3 separate regions of the Homo sapiens genome follow, and all the other regions are linked to region 3. Evidence: promoter capture Hi-C in 16 types of primary human blood cells and fetal thymus (Javierre and others, 2016). All regions are on one chromosome and are shown on one strand. The core of a region is centred on a gene start or on the middle of the fragment in contact, and the rest is flanking DNA. Distances in the headings are between cores, read along the strand shown. Region 1 overlaps PHKA1 (phosphorylase kinase regulatory subunit alpha 1). Region 2 overlaps NHSL2 (NHS like 2). Region 3 holds the start of CITED1 (Cbp/p300 interacting transactivator with Glu/Asp rich carboxy-terminal domain 1).

What was found. Contacts are between HindIII fragments. The CHiCAGO score rates a contact against its expected background, and 5 or more counts as called.
Region 1: a fragment that was not itself captured here is called in contact with the fragment with the promoter of CITED1 in region 3 in 5 of 17 cell types (monocytes, megakaryocytes, M1 macrophages and 2 more); the score reaches 9.7 in monocytes.
Region 2: a contact is called between a fragment that was not itself captured here and the fragment with the promoter of CITED1 in region 3, in 1 of 17 cell types (total B cells). The highest score is 5.6, in total B cells.

Annotation. Positions count from the first base shown.
Region 1 is chrX:72,577,427-72,580,126 of GRCh38, reverse strand. PHKA1 (phosphorylase kinase regulatory subunit alpha 1) reads left to right here. Exons shown (of 32, transcript NM_002637.4): 32 at 1-1,313. Among named protein-coding and RNA genes, the nearest start is that of HDAC8, 5.9 kb to the right of the region's middle. The HindIII fragment of the contact is 3,710 bases long and covers 1-2,700 here.
Region 2 is chrX:72,017,675-72,020,374 of GRCh38, reverse strand. The region is part of intron 1 of NHSL2 (NHS like 2); the gene reads right to left. Among named protein-coding and RNA genes, the nearest start is that of NHSL2, 110 kb to the right of the region's middle. RefSeq lists an enhancer at 1,486-1,535 and a silencer at 1,516-1,895. The HindIII fragment of the contact is 206 bases long and covers 1,156-1,361 here.
Region 3 is chrX:72,304,517-72,307,216 of GRCh38, reverse strand. It overlaps CITED1 (Cbp/p300 interacting transactivator with Glu/Asp rich carboxy-terminal domain 1), which reads left to right and starts at 1,303. Exons shown (of 3, transcript NM_001144887.2): 1 at 1,303-1,392. It overlaps LOC105373250 (a long non-coding RNA gene), which reads right to left and starts at 1,115. Exons shown (of 3, transcript XR_938441.2): 1 at 997-1,115. RefSeq lists an enhancer at 248-297 and a silencer at 24-318. The HindIII fragment of the contact is 8,247 bases long and covers 1-2,700 here.

The DNA of each region.
Region 1 (2,700 bases), core at 108-2,607, 270 kb before region 3:
GAGGGAATCAGAGGTGGCTTAGTTCCCTGAAGACAGCCTTATGCGCTTAATCCCTGCCTTTGAAAAATGGGCCAATACACAACACAGACAATAATTTGAAGCGTCTGTATTCAGCAAAGATAAATACAGCAGTCCAGTCTATAGGTGCTCTACTTAGCATTCTTTTCATGTGCTCCTGGTCTCTGTCTCACTCACCTACTTTCTACTACATCCAACTCAACTCCCTGACACCCTATCCCCCCATCTATTCTTAAACTCTTTCATATATATTTTCACTTCCTAATTCTAGTGTACATATCCCTGTATATCATGGTATCTGTGGGCATATGTCTGTTTCTTATAAAGACACATATTTGTGTGTGTATGTGTGTGTGTGTGTGTGTGTGTGTATAAGCATACATGGGAATTTTTCTGAATGTAAGCAGTTTTGATGTGTCTGTATATCAATCTGTATCTACATTTGATGGACTGAGTAAGAATGTTGCATGTGAGAGAAGGGATGTGACTGTGGACTCAGATTGACACACACAGATTGGTGGAAGAATAGCTTCAGTCCTCTTCCTTCATCCCATATGTAGGTAGCCTTGCTTGACAAATGTTTCTTCTAACTCTCCTTCTTCTGAATTGTGCAGAGACTCTGTTAACTTCCCTTTTTGCACTTAGATAACTTCCTACTTCAACCCCCTCCTTTATCTTGGATTTCTAAAGTTTTTCCCCAATATTGGGAATGGTGAGGGTGGGGATGAGAGACTCTCTGAACAATTCTTGCAGAACCAGTGACAATCTTATGAATATAATGAATAAGTAAGCATATAGTAGGGTGATAGAATACAGATAGTAGAAACAAAGAGAGGACAGCAAACCTTTTCAGCACTTCTCTCAGAGCAAATGGAAACACACAGTAAGTAGCTTTCTGACTACATTATTTTCTGGTCACTTTTAAAGAAAGTTTACAACCTGTTCTGAAACTATTTGTCTTTTCACTGGTTGTAAGTGTACCCCAATCTCAGGGAGTATATCTGTAGTGCCACAGGCAAAAGATCCACTCCTTCCCACACTCATTTGCCTGAACTTACTCGAAGGGCTGCATTTCTCTGAGTTTACGAAATTGTGTCATTATGGTCCCCATACAGTGGTATTTAACTTTTAAAGCAACTTTTAAGAAAACTCGACTTGTTTTTTGTTCATTTTAAGTGTGTGGTACTAAAAAGACATGTTAGACTTTTTTTAAAAAAGCACTTATGTTTTGAAAATAGAATAAATAATAAGAATTTCCAATTAAATCATGTCTGGTGCCAATGTGCAAAACTTCACATGTGTTTTTGTGATTGGAGTTTATTTCATGGCTTTATTCTACATACTCTGCTTAATTATACAGTACAGTCAAAGCTCATTCATTGGGTTGAAGTAGAATAATATTAATATATTAATACATATATAATATATTATACATTTCATAATATGTTAGATAATATATGTAAAGAAATGCAGTTTAATCATTCAAATACATACCCACTCAAACAAGGCTTACTAAATTCAAGCGGGCTTATTGACATCTGTAGGGAACATTTTCTTTTCTTTTCTTTTCTTTTCTTTTCTTTTCTTTTCTTTTCTTTTCTTTTCTTTTCTTTTCTTTTTTTTTTTTTTTAAGACGGAGTCTTGCTCTATCGCCCAGGCTGGAGTGCAGTGGGGTGATCTCGGCTCACTGCAACCGCTGCCTCCCGGATTCAAGCGATTCTCCTGTCTCAGCCTCCCGAGTAGCTGGGATTACAGGCATGCGCCACCACACCCAGCTAATTTTTTTTGTATTTCTAGTAGAGACGGGGTTTCACCATGTTGGCCAGTCTGGTCTCAAACTCCTGATCTCAGGTGATCCGCCTGCCTCAGCCTCCCAAAGTGCTGGGATTACACTCGTGAGCCACCGCGCCTGGCCTGTAGGGAACATTTTCTGATGAATGAGTAAAACATTTTTACTCAGCCTTTCAATTGTGTACAAATGGTGCTTCTTCCCTAATGAAGGGTATTTTAAAACAACTTGTTTTTCTAAATATTAAAAATATTTGGCAGAATCTTGTTTGTTTATACTATTCATTAGCCTTTTCTATAACAGGATTTATCCAGCAAGGATGAACATTGTCTCTACAGTTCCATCCTGGTTAATGAAATTTTACTACATTCTGGGAATCTTACACAACTGGTGGGGCAAAAGTTGTTCTTCACCACAGCTGGCAAAACCTCTGCCATTCCTTTTTCTACTTACCAAGTACCTAGTGTCTGCACTAATGCAGTGGAGATTATTTTCCACATGTAGTCTTCATTTCCTTTTTATTTATTTAATTTTAAAAAAATACAGCCATCAATTTTTATTCTTATATTTGGTAGACATTCATTTCCTTTTTAACTTGAGTAACCTCAGGTGTTGGTTTGTCCAGGGCAGCCCCCATTTATGCCTGTTTTACTGGCATAATTATCAATAGCACTGTGTCACTCTCAAAAAATGTCTCAGTTTGAAAGATATGGTCACCCTATATTTAGCAGATGTGTGATTTCTTTTAAGGCTAAGCCAAAAAACCAAGAACTTATTCTCAAACCACTAGTAGTACTTGTGCAGTAGTGGTATGGGGGTAAGGATGACAGTAGGGGGAAACTCCCTTCCCCACCAAATATAGAAATATTTGGCATAATGGCTCTTAAATAACC
Region 2 (2,700 bases), core at 9-2,508, 290 kb after region 3:
CATCTCTTCCCATCAGAGACAAACTAATGGAGAGAAAGAGAGAACTGTCCCCAGCTCATGCTTTTGCTGGGAACACAAGACTCACAGCGATCTGTGTCAGTGCTGCTGTGTGAGCTGAAGTATGTGTGTGTGTGTGTATTTTAATGAAGGCATAAAAAAATCAAGGAACTATGCCAGGTAGTGAAATTACGGAGAGTTTTTATGTTCTTCTTTGTACTTTCCTGTTTTTTCACAATTAGCCTGTGTTAGTGTAAAAATCTGTAAATAAAGACTATTTCAAAAAATAACACGAAGAAAAATCATGGCAGAATACAAGTAAGTGCTGACTTTTGTGCTGCAGATAGTTTATCCTATGGGGATAGGATTCAGGGGAGATTTCTAAGGTGAAAGACAGAGGAAGCAGATGGAGAAGGGGTGCCTGAGATCACCAGGCCTTTATTCTGCAGATGGGCTGAGTCAAAAGTCAAAACCTGAGTCTCTTGGACTGCCCAGCACTGGTCAGGCTCTGACTAGGGTAACTGGATTCATTTGTTGAATCTGAGAACCTTAGATCTAGAAAAATCTGAGAAATTACAGAGCCAGCCCTATCCTTTCCTTCTCACAGGAGGGACTGAGGCTCAGAGAGGTGAGAACTCTGAGGACTCCTAGCTTTTGCACAGGCTGTTCTCTGCCTGTATCACCCTCCATCTGGCCCTTGTCTGCCTAACTAATCCCAACCCTTCCTTCAAGACTCGGTTCAAACAGCACAGAATCTTGTGAGTTAGGTGGCCTCTGCTGTGCTCACAGAACACTCAGTACATTCCTCTGTCATTCATTCGACAAATTACTGAGCACCCACTGTGTGTCAGGCACTGTTCCATGTACTCGGGAGCATAAGTGACCAAAAATCTCTGCCCTAGTGTGTGGTGACTAAATCATCGCATTTGTTCATTCAGCCAGTGTTTACCTACGTGTCGGGTTTCTGTACCTGGCCTAAGCTATTTTATGGTCAGGGCAATTGTCTCCACAGGCTTGGCCTCCTTCTCTTCCCTTCACCGTGAGTGCCTTGTGACACAGTGAGTGTTTTCTGAATGAATGAATGAATAATGAAATGACCAAGGTCACACAGCAATCTCATGATGGAGCTGGCACTGAAACCCTGGTCACCCGAAAGCTTGTGCACTTTCTCCTGCGCTCCACTGCAGACAGCTCCAATCTTCGTAACCTCCATCACCTCAGGTGAAAGAGGTCACAGAGGAGATCAAGGACTGGGTCCTTAGGCAGATTCATTTTGGAAAGGCGAGACTCATCCTATCACAGATCCTCTCTGGCGAGAGTGGGGACGACACCAGCCTCGGACAGGACATCCCTGCTCAAAAGCTTGGGGCGATCAAGACTGGACACTCTCCAGTAGGGGCCGTGTCGGCCCCATCACTCTGCCCAGTGTCTGAATCTTGAAGTCCATTTCGTTTCTGGATCAAAAACAGAGCCACCTCTGGCACTGCAGAAACATTCATTCCTCACGCACCCCATCCCTGGGCCCCGATCTTTCCCTCTGAGCCAAAGGCAGCGCCGGCCTTTGGCAGCCAGAGCAGCGCGGGCCGGTGGCCCCGCAGCCGCACTGCAGCGCCCTCTGCCGGGCATCGGGCTGGCGCCGCCACTCCGCGGGGCGGGGGAGGAGGGCGGGCGGGGGCCCGGCTGCTTCCAAGCAGCCTCGTGTTCCGGAGGTGCTGAGGGATGGTGACTCATCGCGCCGGCTGCGCCCGCACCGGCCGCCCTCGCAGGCTCGCCGCCTCCGCACGCGCCTGGTGACTGGCCGAGCTGCTCCGCGCACGAAAAGCAGCCCGGGGGCCGGCCCCCGACGGTAGCGGCGCGGCAACGCTTGCTTCCCCGGCCCGTGCCCTCGCCCTGCCCGCGGACCTGGGCATCATGGAAGCTTCTGGCGCTAAAAGCCCGCTCTCCTCCACTTGTCGCGTTGAGTTTTCACCTCTAACCCGGGATAGGGGTCGTTTTTATCACACCACCTTAACAAGAGGGAAACTGGGCGGGGGAACGGTGAGGCGAGGGCCGGGGTCAAGCAGATAAGAAGCAGGGGAGGGCCTAGATTAACCAGTAACCTCTGATTCCAGAGCTCGAGGTGTGCTTTCCATAGCATCAAGCTGCATGGTCCCCCTAACCTCCCAGGTCCTCACCCCCACACAAGCAAAGGAAGGGTAGGTTGGACCACCTCATAGAGGTCCTTGAAAGTCAAGCACCATAATAAACATTTACCATTTTAGAAAGAAAAGAAAAGCTATAAATGGCATTTAAGAAGAAAGTCAGGTAAGCATTGGGCTTGATTCTGTAAATATGTTTTAGATTATATAGGGCAGAGGGCAGTGATCAGAGCTGTGAGTTCGAAAGCTGCACCAAAGGAAAACAGATTGGAGGAGTAGCACCTGAGACCCCAGCAGGCTCAGCAGGGTCTAAATTAGAGTCAGGAAAATGAGGGGAAAAAAAAAGATTACAGATCTGGGAATGGGAAGGACTTAGTGATAGATCGGATTTCAAAAAGTGGGGCAATTAAAATCCATACATCACTTTGTACTTCTACTCAGGTATCTACTACAATTGATTCTGCCTTCTATCTGAGTAATATTTTGCCAGCTTTGTTAGACAGTTAGGTCCATAGAGTAGTGCTGGTGGCTCAGACCCCATTCCTGCCTTGAGGACCATGACCTT
Region 3 (2,700 bases), core at 54-2,553:
CTTTAAAGGGCCACAGACGCCAGCCGCTGCTATAAAAATGTGCCCGGCGGCAAAGCTGCAGAAGGGGCACCGCTGAGCTGCCGAGAGGAAGCTCGCTCTGCCCGGCTGCCCTCTTGTAGTCCGCCGGCGAGGGGCAGTTCTCGGTGAGGAGGAAGAGAGCAGCGGACGGCACAGCACCCGCGCGGGCCCTCCGTGAGTATCCAGTTCAGATTTTGCCACCAACTCGCCCACGAGCCAGGACATGTGCTAATAATGCCCTAAGCCGGTTATAAAGACGTGGAAATTGAGGGGAGAAAAAAAAAGGGAAAAAAAGGGTCTGTCCTTCCTGGGATTCCTAGCCGAGGCCAGTCTGCTGCCGTGTGCGTGTGCGTCAGGGCTCTCCGGGCGGCAATGGGGGCTTGAGAGCCGGGTCCCCAGCGCCGGGAAGGGAGCGCGGTGGCCGCCACCGCCACCGCCCCGGAGTCCGGCGCCGAAGCTGCGGGCGGGCGGGCGGGCACCAGCTCGGTCAGGGGCTGCTTGGCGCGGCACTGTGCGGTGCAGCGGCGGCGCGGCGCGGTGCGGGCTTTTCCCAGGCGCCCCGGGGTCGGGTGGCCAACGGCGCGGCCGCGGGCGCTGAGCGCGACCGGTTCGCGGTAGCGGTGGCGGCGGCGTGCGTGCCAGGGGCTGGGGGCTCCGCCGCCTCTCTTGCGGCTCACCGAGCTCCGCGCTTCCCTCTCTCCAGGGCAGGCGGCTTCTCAGAGGTAAGCCGGGCCGCCGGGCTGGGCGCCGGGCTGGGCGGCGGGGCCGAGGACTCCCGTGGAGCGGGTATGGGGAGTGGGCGGCCGCCAGGCGGGCCGGAGGGTTCTGGGGAGACTTGCTTTCTGTTGGAAAGCTGCTCTGCTGGGGGCGAGGGGCCGCCCGCCCGCCCGCCCGCCAGCGCTCGGGTTCGCTTGCCAGCGCGCCCCCCTGCCGGCCAGCGGGGCCGGGTGCCCGCTTCTCCCGGGGAGACGGCAGCACCTTTTCTCCCTGCGCCCGCGCTTTCTCCAGCTTGGCTTCCACCGACTTTGCTAATCTCCCGGACCGCATCTGGACGCTCTGGCTCCGGAGCTGCACAAAGCTCAGATTTACTTCGGGGAATTGAGGCAAGAGGGGGCTTTTCGGGCCGAGTTCAGCGGAATTGCGGGATGGAAGTTAGCGAATTTGGGCAACTTGCCTCTACTGCCCAGTCGACCTCAGCCCTCCCCTCCCCCGACACACGCCCACACACACACACCCACGCGCACACCCCTCTCCCTATAAACGCGGGCTGGCGAGCCGCGCGCCGAGTCCCTGCTTCGCAGAGCACCGGACTTGGAGTCAGAGAGACCTGGCTGCGAATCCCGGCTCCGCCACTTTCTAGCGCTGTGACCTTGGGCAAGTTACCGCACCTCTCCGAGCCTCTCTCACTCTTCTCCTAGCGGGGTTTTAGCACTGACCGCAGGCGGCTTGGCTAGGGGGTAGGCTCAGCCTGCTGCCGCGTCGGATGCTCAGCGGGCGCTCAGTAAGTGTTGATCAGGCGCGAGAGTGGCAGCAGCCGGCGCCGGAGTGCGGACTCGCCGCGGAGGCCGACACCCCGTGCCCCTTCCTGCCTGTCCATCCTGTCTCTAAGATCAGTTCCTGATACAGCACTTGCGGGAACGGACGCTCAGGGCCCCGGTGGCCTGGGTGCACGCGCCCGCCGTGCAAGGGATGCTCCCGGCCGCCCCCGGTTCCGCGGCTCCATCTGGGATGCGGCGAGGAGGGCAGCCGAGCTGTCCGCAAACAACGGGCCTTTAGTTTTCAGGTGGCGAAACTGACTGGTCTGGTTAGAGCGCGTCCAAGCCAAGCCGCAGTGCTGTTTGGATTTTTAAATTTCTCCTTCTGAGTGAGAAAATAGCAATCGAGATGGAACCATCCGGTTGGTGCCATTTTAACTTTTGGTCCCCCAACAGGTTAAAGATGAGGCCCCCACCTGCCTCTCCCTTCTCTTTTCCCTCTCCCCTTCCCACCCCTGTCTAGGCGGGAGGGGGCTGCTCGCCCAAGGGAAGGCCTGAAGCGAAGAGCGGGCAGCGGGACTGGGAACTGGTGGCCGGGGGGCCGCCAGGCATCAGCCGGCGAGAAGGCACTTGTTGCTCTAGGTTTCCCAGCCGCCTGTCGCAGCCGTTTCGCAGTGGTCAGCTCGCGGCTTGGAGAGCGGGCTGGGACGTTTCCGCGTTGCCAAGTTTTGCCCACGAACGGGCTAGAGGGTGGTGGAGGAGGGCAGAAAGCCGGGGAAGCAGAGCCAGGGATGCCGATGGAAATGCGATTGCTTCTTCAGACGCATTCAACAACACTTACTGAGCGCCTATTGAGCGCAGACCCAGGCTGGGGTCAGGGTGGGTGGTGGGTCAGTAATGGAAGGCAGAAGATCTGAATGGACACAGGGCCTCTTCTGGGGGAGCTCCCAGATTGAAGAGGGAGGCGCGGTAAAATGGTCTTCCCCCACGAACTGATATCAGAATAGAGAGAGTTTTTTTGCTCGTTCTCTCTTTTGATTTTTCTAATGTTTCTCTTTTGGTTTTGCTGTTGTTGCTGCTGCTCCTGTTGTTTTTTCTTCGTTTTGTACATTCGGGTACCAAGCGGCAAAAAGGAGAGGGAAGGCTGGATAGGAACAGGAAAAGATGGACAGGGCCCCCAGACATTTTTCTTAGGACAGGAAAATTG